Linked DNA regions of Homo sapiens: region 1 is linked to region 2. The links are contacts of gene promoters, found by promoter capture Hi-C in blood cells and fetal thymus (Javierre and others, 2016). All regions are on one chromosome and are shown on one strand. Each heading gives the region's core, a stretch centred on a gene start or on the middle of the fragment in contact. The rest is flanking DNA. Distances are from core to core; before and after follow the strand shown.

Evidence for each region. The method cuts DNA at HindIII sites, captures the fragments that hold promoters and counts their contacts. A CHiCAGO score of 5 or more calls a contact.
Region 1: a contact is called between a fragment that was not itself captured here and the fragment with the promoter of PANK3 in region 2, in 2 of 17 cell types (naive CD4 T cells and total CD8 T cells). The highest score is 5.8, in naive CD4 T cells.

The regions. Positions count from the first base shown.
Region 1 is chr5:169,567,224-169,570,176 of GRCh38, forward strand. The region is part of intron 2 of LOC105377714 (a long non-coding RNA gene); the gene reads right to left. Among named protein-coding and RNA genes, the nearest start is that of SPDL1, 15 kb to the right of the region's middle. The HindIII fragment of the contact is 697 bases long and covers 1,224-1,920 here.
Region 2 is chr5:168,577,732-168,580,715 of GRCh38, forward strand. PANK3 (pantothenate kinase 3) reads right to left here and starts at 1,637. Exons shown (of 7, transcript NM_024594.4): 1 at 1,525-1,637. The coding sequence starts at 1,552. RefSeq lists enhancers at 1,365-1,434, 1,525-2,068 and a silencer at 1,585-1,914. The HindIII fragment of the contact is 14,951 bases long and covers 1-2,984 here.

The sequences.
Region 1 (2,953 bases), core at 322-2,821, 990 kb after region 2:
AAGCACACAGGCCAAGACATGGTGGAAGGATCCAGCACATTGGACAGCGCCAGTAGCATGGTAAGGTACAGCTGCGGAGGTCCTGCTGGCAGCTGCCAACTAACTTCCTGAGCATTATATTGCTCAATGCTTGGGTTAAATGAAGGTCAAGGGGTGGGAGGTGGAAGAATGAACCCAGAGCTTCAAAAGACCCTGAACCAAATCTGGTTAAACCAAGCACTGCTCAAGGAGGTTTTAGACCCTAAACCTAAAATGCAGCCAGAAACCCATACCAACAGTTACTCCTCTTTCAGAAGTAGCTGCAACAGCAACAGCAATGGAAATAAATATCTGGCAAACAGATTATTTGGCAGTTAGAGTTGAGTATGCAATTTTGGGTATACAAGTAGAGGTCTGCTCAAGTAAGACCAGAGTTTATTCTCCTCCTTCTCCTTCCCTTTCCTCCCCTCCTCCTCCCACTCCCTCTCCTCCTCCTCTTCCTCTTCTACTTCCTTGTTTCTTCTTCTTCCCTTCTTCTTCTCCTCCTCCTACTTCTTCCTTCTTTCTTCTTCTTTCCTCTTTCTTCTTCTCCTCCTCCTACTTCCTCTTCCTTCTCCTTCTTCCTCTTCATCTTCTTCTGCTTTCTTCATCCTCCTCCCTCTCTTCTTCTCCTTTTTTTTTTAAGAGACGGTCTTGCTCTGTGGCCCAGGCTGGAGTACATGGAGTGCAGTGCCACAATCATAGCTCACTGCAGCCTTGAACTCCTGGACCCAAGCAATCCTCCTGCCTCAGCCTCCTAAGTAGCCGGGACTACAGGCATGCACCACCACACCCAGCCAATTAAAAAATTTTCTTTTAAGGAAAGGGGTCTTGCTATGTTGCCCAGGCTGGTCTTGAACCCCTGGGCTCAAGTGATCCTCCCACCTAAGCCTCCCAAGTAGCTGGGATTATAGGCTTGAGCCACAGCACCCAGTAGAGTTTCTTAACTGGTATCCATGCACTGGCTAGTCCATAAACCCTATGATATAAGCAAGCCTCTCTCTCTCTCTCTCTCTCTCTCTCTCTCTCTCTCACACACACACACACACACACACACAATCTATAGGTAGATAGAGATCTGTGTGTGCGTGTGTGTGTGTGTGTGTGTGTGTGTAGCAAGGGGGCTGTGTACATGTACATTATTTTTTCTGGGAAGAATTCTTATAGATTTCATCAGATTCTCAAAGGAGACTGTAACCCAGTAAAGCTTAGGAACTATCATCTTAGACCAAGGATCAGTATCCTTTAGAACTTGAGCTGGAATATATAATTCAGCCACAGAAGGCTCTTGGTTAGAATGAATGTCATGGAATACTACTTCCACACAAACCCCAGCTACTGACACTCACCCTCAGGGTTATAAAATGTCTCATGCCTTGTGAGTTCAGTCCTTTGGACAGGAAGCTAAAAGTTTCATGTTCGTTATATATAAAGATCCAGGTTAGGGATTTTAAAAAACACATTACTATGTTAGCTAGCTGTCACTGCACGGTAAACCACTCAAAATTTAGTGGTGTTATTTACTTATGAATTGGTAATGTCAGCAACATGGATTAGGTTCAGCTAGACGATTCTTTTGCCTAGGAATTACAAGGCATGGGTTTAGAATCCCACATTATTTTTGCCACATTCATTAGTCAAGGTGCATTACAAGGCCAACCCAGATTCAAAGTTGTTGAGAAACAGACTACTTCCTCATGGGATGAGCTGCAAAGTCACACTGCAAAGGGGCTGCTCATGGAAGAATCACTGCGGTCATCTTGAAAACAATCTTCCACAGCTACATGCTGAAGAATTCATAGTTAAAATAATGTTATCTGTGATTTGCTTGAAAACATCCCAGAAACAAAAACTGGTGGGAAAATAATTGAAAGAAAAATGGCAAAAAGTGATCATTGTTGAAGCTTGATGATGGGCACATGAGGGTTATTTACATTAGTCTTTTTACTTTTGCATGCATTTGTAATTTTTTAAATTAAAAGGTTAAAATTAAATTAACAAAACACATGCTCTCTATGAATCCTTGTAACAATTATCTTTTCCCCTTTTACATGTGTGGACAGTGAATAGGGGGCAGTCATGTGACTGGTCATTTCTAAGGTCACTCATAGAATAATAGCTAATATTTACTGAAGACATAAAATGCACCAGCGCCTTCCCAACATTGTACATCATATCTCATTTAGTCCTCACGATACTACGCATCAGGTAGTATTATTGTCTCCATTCCTAAGATAAGAAACACCAGAAAGCTGACCAAGTTTACAAAATAAGTAGTGAAAGCCTGATTTGGATCCAAGAAATGTGGCTTCAAAGCCTCCACCCTATGAGGAGCAAAGCTGAGATTAGAATCAAGCTCTGTATGGCTCCAGCAGCAGGACCTCCCACTCCACGGTGCTAGGCTGGGACTTTCAGAGCTGGTGCTTCCCACGTCATTTTCCTTCGCTATACTGCCTGTCTGAATTTCCCTTCCCAAATTTGCACATTGCACATTAATACTGCACACTCAGTAGGGATCTGACTAAGTGGCCCACTTAGGGGCCCACTTAGTGGCTCACTTAGTCAGTAGGGATCTGACTAAGTGGCCCACAGCCCACTTCCCATAGGTGGAACACCTCTATTTTCTTCTACTAAATATATAATATATCTGTAAGTGCTTTATAAACTGTAAGGTAATTTGAAAGGTTCACTTGTTCTACAAATTAAGTAGCATTTTAAATGAACAACTAGTTGAAAAATTATTTTTAAGACTCTCCAAAGAAGTTAAATCTTGTGGTAAAGCTCTCCTTTGGAATTGTCCTTACCAACATCTGCAAGTGCAAGCGCGTTTTCGTTCAGGGTGAGAATTGTAGGTGAGAATCATCATTGTAGGAGGAAAAGCAAGAAGATTCATGAAGTGGGAGTTTGGGCTATCAAAGTTTGTTTCCAGGAATGA
Region 2 (2,984 bases), core at 387-2,886:
ATCTAAGTAATCAAATCACTATCATGACAAAAGAAAATAATCACCACCACAAGAGTCAGAATTTGAGTTGGTCATACACTGTTCACCAAATGGAAATTCTAAGAGAAGCAGAGAAAACGTATGCGTGAGGGAAAATGTCCAAGTGTTCTAATTACTGCACCTGTTCAAGATGCATTAGTTTAATTCAGCAAATGAAAATTTAAAGTCTCTCTATATTACTTTTCATTTAAGCCTTCACATCACTATTTTATAGATTTCTTGAACAACTATGACAGGATCTATTCAGTTATAAATAATTTTTTAAAAATTTTAATTAACAGATGAAACTACCAGATAAAGTACTTAGACAATGCTCTATGGGTGCAAGAGAAAGAACACTGTATTATGAGTCAGTCCCCTTAGAGTTATGAACCACATAGCACATGGTTGGTACATGCTTGGAAAAGTTACTCTGGGGCTAAGTTCAATTTCCTCACCTGTGAAGTTAAGACCAAATTACCTTACAGTTATATAGGAATTTGTAGTTTTCACAGGGTTTTGGCTTGTTGCCTCTCAGGTGAGTTTTACAGGAACCCCGATAGGCGGGCAGGGAAGGTGTCAGCGCCCTGTTTTATAGTTGTGGATTTCTTAACAGTTAAAGAGATCACATGAAACACTGTAAAAACAGCAAAAGTATCAATACGACTCTAAGATGAGCATGAATCCCCACGTTCCTAGTCCTTCTGGGAGGCTATACTTAAAAAGAGTGACAATCACAATGGCTGGGTGATTAAATAAGTCAATTACTGGAATAAAAGGTTTTTAAAAGACTAAACATAAAAGGAAGCAAATGAAAGTCGACCTTTCTAAAAGCATAGTCAGAATTTAAGTACATGCATAGAAAAATATCTACGGGTATTCACCATAATATTAATAGCGGTTCGCTCCGGGTGCGGGGAATACGGGTGACTTTATCTTTCTTGTTTATCTGCGTTTTCTAAAACAAACATGAACTAGTTGATATTCTAAACAAAAACAAGCCAAAGCAATTACACACTGGCAGACTGCATGCACGTACGTTTGAAAGCTCCAACTGTAACAACAGTGACAACTCCCAGGAACCCACCGGCATTTCAAGGACACAAGCAGGAAGCCCGGAAATCCCTAAAAACAGGTGCTAAAAGCCGCCAGCGCAACCTGACAGCCGCGACCGCCTCTTTTCAACCTGAATTCAGGGGGAGCTGGGAGAGGAGACTAGTCTGGTTTGACAAAAATCAGAATCAGAAATTCCCTCTGGCACCTCCCAGATCTCGAAGAGAAAGTGGGAGGAAAGGCTAGGGGGCGGCAGGCATTCACCATGCATGAATAGGGGGATGGGGAGGACGGAAGCCTCGAACTCGTGGCTCAAATGGTCCCTCCGCCCCCATACCGGACGAAGCGCCGGCGAGGAGCGACGGGCTTGGAAGCCGACCGCCCAGCCAAGGGGCTTTCAGACGGGGCCCAAGGGTGCCCTCCCAACCTGGCGGGCCCCAGCCCCCGTCTTACAGGGTTTCTTGGCATCTTTGATCTTCATGGCGTCGGCCCGAGGGGCGATGGACGGCCTCCGATCCGGGGCACTGAGAGCAGAGGCGGCGACTCCGGAGGTGGCTGGGCCGCGCGGCGAGGCCCGGCCGGTTCCTCCCCTCAGGCCGGGCGGGGCCGGCCTAGGGCGGGGCGGCGGCGCCTGAGGAGATGCCCGGCCCAGGGGGCGGCCCCCCACCCCCGCGAGGGGTGGCCGGGACCGAGCAAGCTGGGGAAGGCCGCCGGCCTCGCCGCTCCGGGGCCCCCCCGCAGCCGCTCCAAACAAAAGGCCCCGGTCCCCGGAGCCGCCGCCACCGCCGCCGCCGCCGCACTGAGAAATAGCCCGCCCAGGCCGAACGCCCACGTGACGCGAGCCCCCCCTCGCTCCGCTTCCGCCCGGCTGCTGGGGATTGTAGTTCTCCGGTTCGTGAGGCCCCGCTCTCTGGCTGTAGTTGTGCAGGTGGACTACAAAGCCCGAGATGCATCGCGGCCCCTCCTCCGAGGCCCCTCAGCTTCCGCAGATCGCCTCAGAGTGGTCCCAGCGAGAAGAGGGCTGGGTCTTAGTCACGCCAGCGAGGAGGCGACCAATGGTGACTGAGATGGGCGTGCTGGGGAAGTCGGGCTCAGACCTCAGCAGGTCGCGGAGAGAAGGGGGAATGAACTCTTCGAGAGGACTGTCATGGCTGTTCGGCCATTCTCAGATTTCCCCTTGAGACAGGAAAGCTGGTCGTCAGGCCATGGAAAGCGCTACAATCAGGGCTCTAGAGCTGTGCTTAAGATAGACCCTTGAGTACATTGGCGGATTAAAATTATTCACAAAGGAATCCTTTTGCTTAATAGAGACACCTTGAATGTTAGGGTCGGAATGATGACAATAGCAGGAATAGAGGTAACATCTATGGAACGCGTTATGTTCATGGGACTCTGCTAAGCACTTTGTGTGATTTACTTAAATTCAGGGGCCTTGTGGACCACGTGCAATTATTCATTTTATTGTCACTCATTTTGAAGATGGGGCACGGTCTGAGGAGTTAAATTGCTTGCTGAGCATTCTTTTTGCCACCGATCCATATTCCCCTGGGGCCCTCCAGCCCAGCTCTCTCCTTCTAAAGGGAAAACTGACTCCCAGAGAAGAAAATTTAGTTGCTCCAGTTCTCACAGTAAAGCCAGGACACCCTTTCCCCTTGCCTCCTAGAGTCTTAGTCCTCCAGCTGGAATGGGAGAAGATGGCATTGGGTATCTTCTCTTGGCCTTCACTTTTGTTGCCCAGTTAGATGGCCAGGAATTCTGTAGTTTTTACAATAGATGGATAGAGGGTTGGCAGTAGAGGATTGGGCATTCCAGTCAAAGAAACCCGCTTACCAAAGAGCCTTACTGCCCCTTCTTGCAGATGATAAGCCAAGGGATGTGAAGAAGGACAGGAGAGGACACAAGCTACCATTTAT